Linked DNA regions of Homo sapiens: region 2 is linked to region 1. The links are contacts of gene promoters, found by promoter capture Hi-C in blood cells and fetal thymus (Javierre and others, 2016). All regions are on one chromosome and are shown on one strand. The core of a region is centred on a gene start or on the middle of the fragment in contact, and the rest is flanking DNA. Distances in the headings are between cores, read along the strand shown.

What was found. The method cuts DNA at HindIII sites, captures the fragments that hold promoters and counts their contacts. A CHiCAGO score of 5 or more calls a contact.
Region 2: a fragment that was not itself captured here is called in contact with the fragment with the promoter of ITK in region 1 in 2 of 17 cell types (total CD4 T cells and fetal thymus); the score reaches 5.9 in total CD4 T cells.

What each region holds. Positions count from the first base shown.
Region 1 is chr5:157,176,108-157,182,128 of GRCh38, reverse strand. It overlaps ITK (IL2 inducible T cell kinase), which reads right to left and starts at 1,289. Exons shown (of 17, transcript NM_005546.4): 1 at 1,014-1,289. The coding sequence starts at 1,151. The HindIII fragment of the contact is 39,229 bases long and covers 1-6,021 here.
Region 2 is chr5:154,940,137-154,945,866 of GRCh38, reverse strand. MRPL22 (mitochondrial ribosomal protein L22) reads right to left here and starts at 4,794. Exons shown (of 7, transcript NM_014180.4): 1 at 4,729-4,794; 2 at 4,602-4,650. The coding sequence starts at 4,756. RefSeq lists an enhancer at 4,695-4,854. The HindIII fragment of the contact is 2,390 bases long and covers 1,441-3,830 here.

The sequences.
Region 1 (6,021 bases), core at 40-2,539:
GAAATCAAACATGCTTTGAAAAATTGCAGCATAGGGCTAAACAAGAGCCACTGCATAAAGCAAAGAAGTTTTGAAGAAGAAAGGGATCTTGAAGGTTGTTATTTCCAGTTTTTTCATTTTATGAAGAAAGAACCTGAAACAGGAGGTAGACATTTGCCCAGACTGGATCACCTACTGAGAAGTAGAGTTTGGTCTCCTGACCCTTTGTCCAATGCTTTTTCTACCAAACTACATTATTAGGATTATTCCTGTTGCTTTTGTTATTAGTGATGTTAAGAAGCACAAGACTATTTTTAGATAAAGAGATAGACTGACCTAGCAAAGCAGCCATACTCCTTCTGGGTAAGAACCGCTGGTCTGCACTGCAGAAACTTTGTTCTTAATAACCCTGGTGTCCTAAGAAGTCTATCAAGAGATGAAGAGGTTTGCCATTGTGCCTTACAACTTTTAGATAATTAAATGCCTGGGAAATCTTATTTCAAGATCAGGCTAGCGACGAGTATTGAGACAAACAGAGTTATTCATGAAAACGTTAACACTGAACCCAAAACTTAACCATTCTAAACACCAGTTTCTTCCACTAAAAAATAAGAAAGCTGGGGTAGATCATCCCATTGAATGCTAGTGTTGTATTAATCTATGTTTCATTAAATTTAGTATGTTTCATTAAATTTAGTATGTTTCATAGAAAGTTCAAGTTTTATCGAATCATAATACTTGCTACCTAAAATGTTATTCATAATTTAAAAACCAAACATAACCTTGCAGGGGGAAAAAGCTGATGAATGTTAAATTTACAGTTTTTAGAACTGAAATCACCTAGCACCACCATTTCACCTCTTGACTGCTCTCTGCATTCTCCTCTGATTACTTTTACTGTACTTTTTATGTTGTTACAATAAGCATGTTTGTGTTTCCTGTGCTCTATTTTATGCTATGTATATATTTTTGCATTAGCCCAGTCCAAACATAAAATGCTATGCGAAAAAAGACAAATGAAACTGCTCACATACCCCATGACGATCTTCAAAGTATGCCAGGCTGGCTTTGGTTAACACAAAGAAGCGGACTTTAAAGTTCGAGGGAGAAGTTCTTCTCTTTTGTTGGGATTTCTTGATGAGCTGTTCTTCCAGGAGGATAAAGTTGTTCATGATCCAGTTCTTGAAAGGTGGTGCACCTTGGGCATCACCTCTTAGCACAACCAAAGGAAAGAGTTTTGGGGCAAAGAATGCAATGTGGAGGCAGTTGATCTTCAGAGAGCTGCTCAAGGGCAACTTGCCTTCAACGTTATCTTTCTATCAACGTTCAGCCAACATAGCTGAGCTTCTCCTCTGATGTCAAAGGCCGAAACCACATCCTTTCAAAATTCACAAAACGAGGAGGCATATGTAAAAAATACATACAGCCTTTGCTAATGGCTTGAAATGATATTTGAAAAACTGTAAACTCAAAATTGTGGTAAGGATTACAGTTTAATCTTTATAGTTCCTGGTTTAATCCATCCAGCAGTTAAATCATGTAGCACAAGGAGTAAGGACAATGTGTGGTTTTGCTTACCATGATATACTCAGCAACCATCACAGTACCTGACACATAAAACAGATGTTCAAGAAAAATTTGTTGAATGGATCATCACCAAATTGGGTTGGACAATTAAAAGAGGTAATGAGCACAAAACCCTCACACATTAAAGTGAAGAAATATGTTGCTGAAGTTTATTAGTTTTTAAGATTTAAATTAAAGCCCATAGAAATTTCTCAATGCTACATATAGATGACTGCCTTTCTGTCCTGACGTTTTGTGGAAGAGTGAAAAATAAGTGAATCCTTCAGAATGGCATAATAAACAAAGTATATGTGGGCTTTGAAAACAGACAAACTTGTGTTGGATTCCCAGCTCTGTCACTTACTATGCTGTTTCTCTTTGAGCAAGCCATGACTTCTCTGATCCTTAGCTTCCTTGTGAGGGTCCTTTGGAGGACTGAATCCCATACATCTTATGAATGGTAGGTGCTAGTCATACATGTCACCTTAGAGTTAGTACATAGTTGAAGTATAATGTGTGACAGTTACCTCTACTATGTTAATAATCAAGAGATTTTAGTGTAAGCAGATATTGCATGTAGTGGGTAGGGATAAATAATAAATGAAATAATAATTATTGCTGTATAGGAGTGAAATTCTCCAATGTTTATTTTTAAATGTAAATTACCAGACAACAGCCTAATTTTATTTCATATACTGGATGCCCCAGCATAATCAAGACACCCAGGAGGGTACGGTACTGGTATATTTTAAATTACCTCCCCCATTCTGAGATTCTTAAGACATATGTGTGGAAATACACTGCCCAAACAAGATAGTATTTTTTTTTTCTGAGTATGGGCTTGAGGTAGGGATTGCTACTATTCCCAAATAGCTACTCTCTCCTTCTTACTAGAGTAACAGAATCCCTGACAGTTATCTGGGCATCTGGCCAGCAAGAATAAAGACTACAAATTTTAGCCTCCCTTGTAGCTAGGTGTAGTTGTATGACTGTCTTCTGGTCAACTGAATGTAGCAGAAGTCGTGTGCACAACTTCTAGGAAATTTCCTTAGTGGGATCTGTCATCCCCTTTTCTTTCCCTTTTCCTCCTGCCTTGTGACTAGAATATTGAGGTAACAGTTGGAGCTGAAGCAGCTATCTAGTATCATGAGGTGGAAATTGAATGTTGAGGACAATGGAGTATAAGATAGAAAGAGCCTGGGACCCTGGTGACCATGGATCTTCCATGCCAGCCCTGGATTACATTTTTTAATATCTATTTTCTAAGTCTCAGTTATTTTGAGGTTTCTGTCACTACCAGCAAACCTAGATAATACAGTGCTATCTTCTCAAACTAGACTACAAACTCCTCTGAGGAAAGTACATTTTACACCTGCTTGGTTCAGATGAAAAGAGTTATAGACTTCACAAAGTGTTCTCATCCGGGAAAACAAAATATCATCAGTAGCTGTTGCAATACTTAGGAGTCTTTCGTTTGCTCAGTCTACATGGAGTGTCATCGTAAGTAATTTTATTCTCTTTCTCATAGAGCCATCAAACCCACTAACTGAGACTCATCTTTGCCAACTTTTAAATGCAAACTTAGGAGGCTCAATATTTTTTTCTCACTTTAAGGAAAACATAAACAAAAACAAATAGTCCCTTTGTTTGTTTTGGTTTTAAAAAGTTCACTTCATAGGAGCCAAATTCAAGGAGTTCCCACTTGCCAAAGATGGAACAATTTGAGTATCAAAAGGAATAATAATTGCCATGAATTGAAGAACAGCAAAAATGTTAAAACAATGAGTTCAAAAGAGAATTGAAAAAAGCATCCCAACCTTTTGATCACTTTTGGAGGATGCTGAAGAACCAACTTGTTTTTCTGAAAACTGGAAACAAAGGAAAAAAATAAAACATATTGCTTGCTTTTCTTGAAGAATTATCTTTCAATTCAGTGATCAAGTATTTAATGAGGAAGTTCTTTTTTTCCAAGAAACTAATCAATGAAGGAGTGACAGAATACTATCGTTTTGCAATGCCAATGAAATAATAAATGTAGGCAATGATCATCAATGGCTGTTAAAATTATTACGCAAAAAGCCAATAGGAAAATGTATAACTGTCATATGAAGCTGACAACACTGTAACACACTGATTAATCTTAAAAGAAGGACAACCAGACATTGTATGTCTCCTGAGGTGAAGCAAGAGGAAGTACACAAAACTGGCAACTCGGGAGTCTTGCCAAGAGAAAACAAAATCAAACACAAATCTAATCAAACTTCGAGATATAAATTCGAGTTTACAGGAAATACAAGAGATAAACGAACCTGACAAATGACACTGTGGAGATGCAATTGGATGAGTCCAGAATACAAAACATGCTAAGGACAAATGACTCAGTATCAGTAACAAATAAGTCATAGAGGGCAGGGCACGGTGGCTCATGCCTGTAAGCCCAGCACTTTGGGAGGTCAAGGGGGTGGATTGCTTGAGCCCAGGAGCTTAAGACCAGCCTGAACAACATGGTGAAACCCTTTTTCTACAAAAAATTAGCCAGGCATGGTGGCACACACCTGTAGTCCCGCCTACTCGGGAGGCTGAAGTGGGAGGATCACTTGAGCCCAGTGGGTGGAGGTTGCAGTGAGCTGGGATTGCAGCACTGTACTCCAGCCTGGGTAACAGAGCCAGACTCTGTCTCAAAAAACAAAAGCAAAACAAAACAACAAATAAATCAAAGGGGGAACCCTTAGATTAAAAGAGACTTTAAGAGACATATGAGCATGTTTGGACTTTGGATTAAGAGTTAAGCAAATCAACTGTATAAAGACGTTATGAGACAATTAGACAAATTTGAATGTTAAAGAGATGTTTGATAATACTGAGAAACTTGTTATTTTTTAAGATGTAATAATGGGCTGGGTGTGGTGGCTCACACCTATAATCCCAGCACTTTGGGAGGCTAAGGTGGGCGGATCACGTGAGGTCAGGAGTTCGAGACCAGCCTGGCCAACATGGTGAAATCCTGTCTCTACTAAAAATACAAAAGTCAGTGGAGTGTCGTGCTGTGTGCCTGTAATTCCAGCTACTTGGGAGACTGAGGCAGGAGAATCGCTTGAACCTGGAGGGCGGAGGTTGCAGTGAGCTGAGATGGTACCACTGCACTCCAGCCTGAGCAACAGAGCAAGACACCATCTCAAAAAAAAAAAAAAAAAAGATGTAATAATGGCACTATTATCATGTTAAAATAGTCCTTATTTTGTATAGAAACATACACTGAATTATTGATAAAACAATAAAATGTTTATGATTTGCTTCATCATAATCCAGTGGAGGGGGAGAAATTGGTAGGGGAAGGGATGAAAACTGTTTGACCATGACTTGATAATTGCTAAAGCTGGCTAATGGGTACATCATTATTCTACTCTCCTTGCACCGATGCACGTTTGAAAATTTCCATAATAAAAAGTTAAGCAAAGAAAAAGGGGCTGGGCGCGGTGGCTCACGTCTGTAATCTCAGCACTTTGGGAGGCCGAGGCGGGTGGATCACCTGAGGTCAGGAGTTTGAGACCAGCCTGGCCAACATGGTGAAACCCCGTCTCTACTGAAAATACAAAAATTAGCTGGGCATGGTGGCAGGTGGCTGTAGTCCCAGCTACTTGGGATACTGAGGCAGGAGAATAGCTTTAAACCCAGGAGGCGGAGGTTGCAGTGAGCTGATTGAACCACTGCATTCCAGCCTGGGTGACAAGAGCAAAACTCTGTCTCAAAACAACAACAACAACAACAATACAAAGAAAAGAAAAAGAAAGCCCAGTTCAGTTCAAGGTAATAATCAAAACTCCAAACATGTATTCAAGTTGATGCTTTTCCGTAACTTTGCATGGGTTTGCTTCAGGATTTGAAGCATGTTGGCTTTTCCACCATGTCCTAACCTCTCTTTTCCCACACACAAGCCTGGTTTCTGACACACCTGAGTCGGAAGCTCAGGCTGGAGGGAAAAGAGGAAGAGGGGTAAAGGGTGCAACGTTCATGAAGCTGCAGCAGTAATCTGGGGATGATGTCCTTGGGATGTGGTGGATGAACAATTGCTGCTTTTTCTTGCATGTTTCATGTGCTTTGCTGTTTTCAGAGATTTTCCAGCTGAAGGTTCTGACAACTGTTTCCCTGATGTAGGAGTTGCCACTCTCCTTGGCCAAGGAGCCCAACCCTCAGCCCTTGGGCTTTAGCTGTTCCAGCTCCTGTCGGGATTCATTTGTCCTGTCAGGACATAGGTTGTCCTCTTGGGTAAAATTTCCTTGAAAATGAACCACAGAGGCTGGGCATGGGGGCTCACGCTGGTAATCTCAGCACTTTGGGAGACTGAGGTGGGAGGATCCCTTAAACCCAGGAGTTCAAGACCAGCTTGGGCAACACAGGGAAATCTCATTTCTATTAAATAAAGAGAAAAAAGAGCCAGGCAAGGTGGCTCATGCCTGTAATCCCAGCACTTTAGCA
Region 2 (5,730 bases), core at 1,386-3,885, 2.2 Mb after region 1:
GAATAACACTCAATTAAAACAAAATGAAGCAACCTTAAAACAGAAAATACAGACAAATTCTAATTCTAATTATCAGTCCTCATCTGAGAGTGACCTAAGTATCTCTGGTCACTCACTCTTCCTTGAGACACTTTCTTTAATTGGGTTCCAGGACACTTGGGGTTTTCTTCTCCCCTCTCTGGCCACTCCCCCACAGTCTCCTTTGTTGTTTCCTTGTCTCCCTCCCTGGTCTGTAATATTGGCTGCCTTAGGCAGGAATCAATCCTCGGACTCTTTCTATCTACACTCACTCCCTTGGTGAAGTCAACCAGCTTTGCAGCTTTAAACATTATCCATGCATTGATGACTCCCAAATGTACATCCGTTCCCTGAACTCTATAAACTCATATACCCAATTGCCTACTCGTATCTCTACTTGGATGCTTACAACAGCTCAGATTTAACAAACCCAAAAGTGACCTACTAATATTCTCCCCAAACCTGCTCCTCTGGAAGTCTTCCTAGCTCAGTAAGTGGTTAACTCTACCCTTCCAGTTGCTCAGGTCATAAACTTTGGTGTCACCCTTCTTTCTCACACCTCCCATCCAATGCATCAACAAGATCTGTCAGGTGTGGTTAACATACTGCCAGAATCCAACCATTCACTTACCTTCACGGCCACCCTAATCCAAGCCACCATGATCTCATACCTGAAATAGCCAACGGTCTCTGCTTCCATCCTTGCTCCCCATCCCCACCCCAGTCTATTCTCAACACAGCAGCCAGAAAGAACCACTCATAAACATAAGTCAGATCATATAACTCCATGCTCAAAACCTTACAACAGTTTCCCATCTTGCTCAGAATAAAAGCCAAAGTATTTACAAAAAATAATAAGGCTCTATATGATTTATGACTGCCCCTTCCTCTCTGACCTCATCTCCTATCACTATCCCTCTCCTTTTTGTCATTGTTCCTGACACCAGATATGGTTCCTTGGAGCTGTTGCACTTACTATTCTATCTGCACAGAATGCTGTTTGTTCAGATGTTAGCACAGCATGCTTCCTCATTTCCTTCAAATCTTTACTCAAAGATTATCTTTTAGTGAGGCCTTCCCTATCTAAAACTACAAGTTCCTCTCTCAAACACACATACTTCTTATTCTCAATCTCTGCTTTATTTTCTCATAAGCAGATGTCACTATCTAATATACTCTATATTTTACTTATTTTGCTTATTTGCCCCCCTTACTATATTGTACACCCCACAATGGCAAGGGATTATTGTCTGTTCCTGTTCCCTGCAAAATCCTCAGTGCTAGAATAGTTCCCAGCTCAGAGCAGGCACTAAATACATATTTGTAGAATCAATGAAAGAATACAGAGACAGGTAAGGTAAGAGGACTGAGTGTAAATAACTATGCCAAAATTTTACACATGGTTGGAAACTGAGGAAAGCTTAAGAGGATATGCCCCCATCTAAAGGGTGGTACAGACAGGCTTGGTGGCTCACGTCTGTAATCCCAGAGACTCGGGAGCCTGAGGTGGGAAGATCACTTGAGCCCAAGAGTGCGAGACCAGCCTGTACAACATAGTGAGACTCTGTCTCCTAAAAAAAAATATTTTTTTGGCTGGGCGTGGTGGCTCATGCCTGTAATCCCAGCACTTTGGGAGGCCAAAGCGGGCGGATCGTTTGAGCCTAGGAGTTTGAGACCAGCTTGGCCAACATGGTGAAACCCCATCTCTACTAAAAATACAAAACTTAGCCAGGTATGGCGGCCTGCACCTGTAGTCCCAGAAAATATTTTGTTTAGATCCTCACTTTGACATTTAACTGTGTAACCTTCAGTAAGTCACAAAACTTCTCAAATGTATGCATCAGTAAAATAGGAGACTTGGAATTCAAAAACTGAAAACTGTCAGTCAGCTAACAAATATAGCCTACAGAGTAATCCCAGCACTTTGGGAGACTGAGGTGGGAGATTACTTAAGCCCAGGAGTTTCAGACCAGCCGGGCAATATAACAGGACTTTGTCTCTACTAAAACTCAAAAAAAAGTCAGGTGTAGTAGTGCACGCCTGTGATCCCAGCTGCTTGGGAGGCTGAGTTGGGAAGATGGCTTGAATCGAGGCTGCAGTGAGCTATGATCATGATACCGCACTCCAGCCTGGGTGACACAGCAAAACGCTGTCTTTAAAAAAAAAAAAATTTTAATATCTATATATATATGTGTGTGTATATACATGTATGTATGTGTATATATGTATATATATGTGTATATATGTATATATGTGCATATATGTGTGTATATATATATATATCCTGCAGAAATGTTTTATTTGGTCAGCAGCAGTTTTCTTAACCTAATTCAATGTTTTTAGATGAGGAATACACTCTACTGACCACCACAGGCCCTCCCACTCTCATTTTACATAGACAACTTCCCTTAGTTTATTTATTTCTAGTCTGGGGCCTATATGCAATTAAGTTTCCTGGCGGCTCATGCCTGTAATCCCTCCAGGCCAAGGCAGGAGGATCACTTGAGCCCAGGAGTTAGAGACCAGCCTGAGCAACACAGCAAGACCCTAAAAATTAGCCAGGTGTGATGGCATGCACCTGTAGTTCTAGCTACTTAGGAAGCTGAGGTGGGAGCCCGGGAGTTTGAGGCTGCAGTGAGCTATGATCACAGCACTGCACTTCAGCCTAGGCACAGAGCGAGACCGTGTCTCCAAAAAAAAAAGGAAAAAAAAGTTTCTCATCACTGAATCAGATTATATGCTAAAATTTTACATGGTTATCATGAACATTATTTATACCTTTCTACTTAGTTTTCTTATGGTCATTTTCCCCACTAGAAAATCCAAAATAAGGATTCACAAAATTATGTAATAACTTCAGAATTGCAAATAGCCTTAGAGATTATCTAGCAAAATCAAACACTCTTGTATCATGACATAGAGGAAAAGACTAAAGGCAAACTGCTTAAGTTTCTTGCTCAGAGCTTCTTAATACAAGTTGGTGCAAGACAATTCAAATCAACATCAAAATACTTGCCTGTGTAAGACCTTATGCTGGAGGTACAACAATAAATAAATGTCCCTACTTCTCCAAGATACACAAGCTAGTAAAGGGCACATACACATATACATGAAGTCATCATAGAAGGCACACATGCTAAAAGGAAGGAAAAACTAATTTCTTTCCGTTTTAGAGAAACCAGTGAAAACTTCCTGAAGGGAAAACATCTGAACAGAGGTTTGAATAATGGGTAGGACTGCTGTTATAGACAAGATGTGAGGGCATAGTAGGAAAAGCCAAGAAGCAAGTAAGTGCAAAGTATATTCAGAAAAAGTAAGTAAATCAGCATGGTTGGGGGAAGAGTGATAGAAGATTATCTAAGAAGAGTACAGACAAATCCTAAGAGCTACTACTTCCTATTTTCTTCTTTAGCCCACCTCTTTATCCCCCTCGGACCCAAAAACTTAGAAAAGGGTTAAATATAATTGGGAACTCAGTAATAATTTATAATAATAAAAACATTAATGGCAACTAGAATTCAGAGTGGGATTATCACATGCCATAAACATACTAAATACTTCATATGCATTATCTTGTTTGAATTTCCTTTTTAAAATCTACTAGAGCTACATAGATGGCATGTGCCTGTAATCCCAGTACTTCAGGAGGCTGAGGCAAGAGAATTGTTTCAGCCCTTAAGTTTGAGACCAGCATGGGCAACATAGCAACACTTCATCTAAAAAAATAAATAAATAAAAATTAAAAAATTTTTTAAATCCTAAGAGATAGGTACTAACATAACGCTCATATCATAAAAGTGATAACTGAAGCTTATTAAGAATAAGTAACTTTTCCAAGATCACAGTTAAAAAATGGATTCATATACAACTCATCTGTCTGCAAAGCCTATGAACTAAACCAAAATCAATGCTAACAAATGGACAGACCAGAAAATTTACAATCAGATTATCAATTTTCAAATACCGATTTTTTATTTTGGGGAGAAATACAGCGACTACTTACCCTAACCTTTAATGAATGCTTTTGTCCTAAGGCTACAGAATGCTCTGGTATAAAGCTTCAAAATTTCCTACAACTGAGTGGCCTTAGGCAAGTTATTTTACGTTTGGGGACTTCAATTTCCTTGTCTGAAAAACGGGTATAGCAGAACCTACTCGTAGAATGTTATGAGAGTGAGTTAAAGCATATAAACCGCTAAACACAATGTCAGGTACGACGTAAAGCAGAGTTGTCCACAACACGGTCCCTGCCCATGTAAGCAAGTAATCAGAGAGGTAACTTGAAAAGTTGGACGCTTCCATATGGAGATGGAATAGTCTAACCTTGTCCAGAAAGATCACAGTAGACGTTCGGAAATCGCATTTACAATCGCCCTTGGGTTATGGGTAATCCTGATCCCTGTACAGTTTATGCAATAAGGTGGAGAAAAAATAGAGTGACAAAGCAGAGACTCGGGCTGTCTCATTCGCCTCAGTAACCCCAGAGCCTAAAACACAGTTAGGCACGGAGGCGCTCAGTTACCAACTGGCAGAATACTAAAGATGCCTTGGGCCCTTCCGAAACTCCGAAGCGAGAGACTCACCCCAAGGCCAGCTTCCCCCGGCTCCTCAGGTTATGTATCCATAACGCACCTGCAACATCAACACAAGCCGTCAACTCAGATTCCATCTCGACTCCCTTCTGTCGCTTAACCACTAAGAAATCCTTACCCAACTGTCCCAGTACTGCCGCCGCCATCTTTCGCCCTCCCGCTACGGAAGCCGCCGAGTTCAAGCGCCTTCTGGACAGCACGCATGCGCAATACTCTGGATTTCCTGTGGGGCTCTCCCACAAGCAGTACTTACACCCCAGGTGCCGTCACGAAGATCGCAAGCACTGGGCCGGCGCTCGAGGTGTGGTCAGGCGAACCTGGCTTGGGAATGAATTAATTAATAAAGGCCGAAAGCACGTGGGCTTCCGAAAATTCACCTGGATTCAGAAAAACTAAAGTCCCAACTCACAAACTAGAAAGGAGTAGGGGAACAGAATCCGTGAACAAGCCACCTAATCCGGTGGTCCTCAGTTTTCTTATCAGAAATGACTAACCTTAGGGCACAAGCTTGTTGTAAAGATCAGTTGAAATAGTGTGAAAGCTATTTTATTTCATTTTATTGAAACAGGGTCTCTCTCTCGCTTAGGCTGGAGTGTGGTAGCAATGACCTAGTCTCACTGCAGCCTCGACCCCGGGCTCAAGCCACCCTCTTACCTCAGCCTCCCAAGTAGCTGTGACTACAGGCGCACATCACCACGCCCGGCTAATTTTTGTATTTTTTATAGATAAGGAGTTTCCCCAAATTGCCCAGGCTGATCTCGAATTCCTGGGCTCAAGCAATCTGCCCTCCTCGGCCTCCCAAAGTGCTAGGATTAGAGGTATGAGCCACGAAACCTAGCCTAAAATCTCTTTTAAAGAGCAAATAGTTCAAATATGATGTATGCTGTCCTAATCCCTACTAATCTGGTTGACCTTCAAGAATGAGTTTATATTCATCTGGCATTTACTGCCTTATGTCAGGCAGGTATTTCACTAAATCTCATTTATTCCTCACAGCAATCCAACAAGGCATGGATTATCATTTTCCTTCTTCAAATGAGGAAACATATTTAGGATATGTTAAAGTCTCTCAACTAACAACTGGCAAACCAGTGATCAATCTACGACTAGGTGCCTCCAA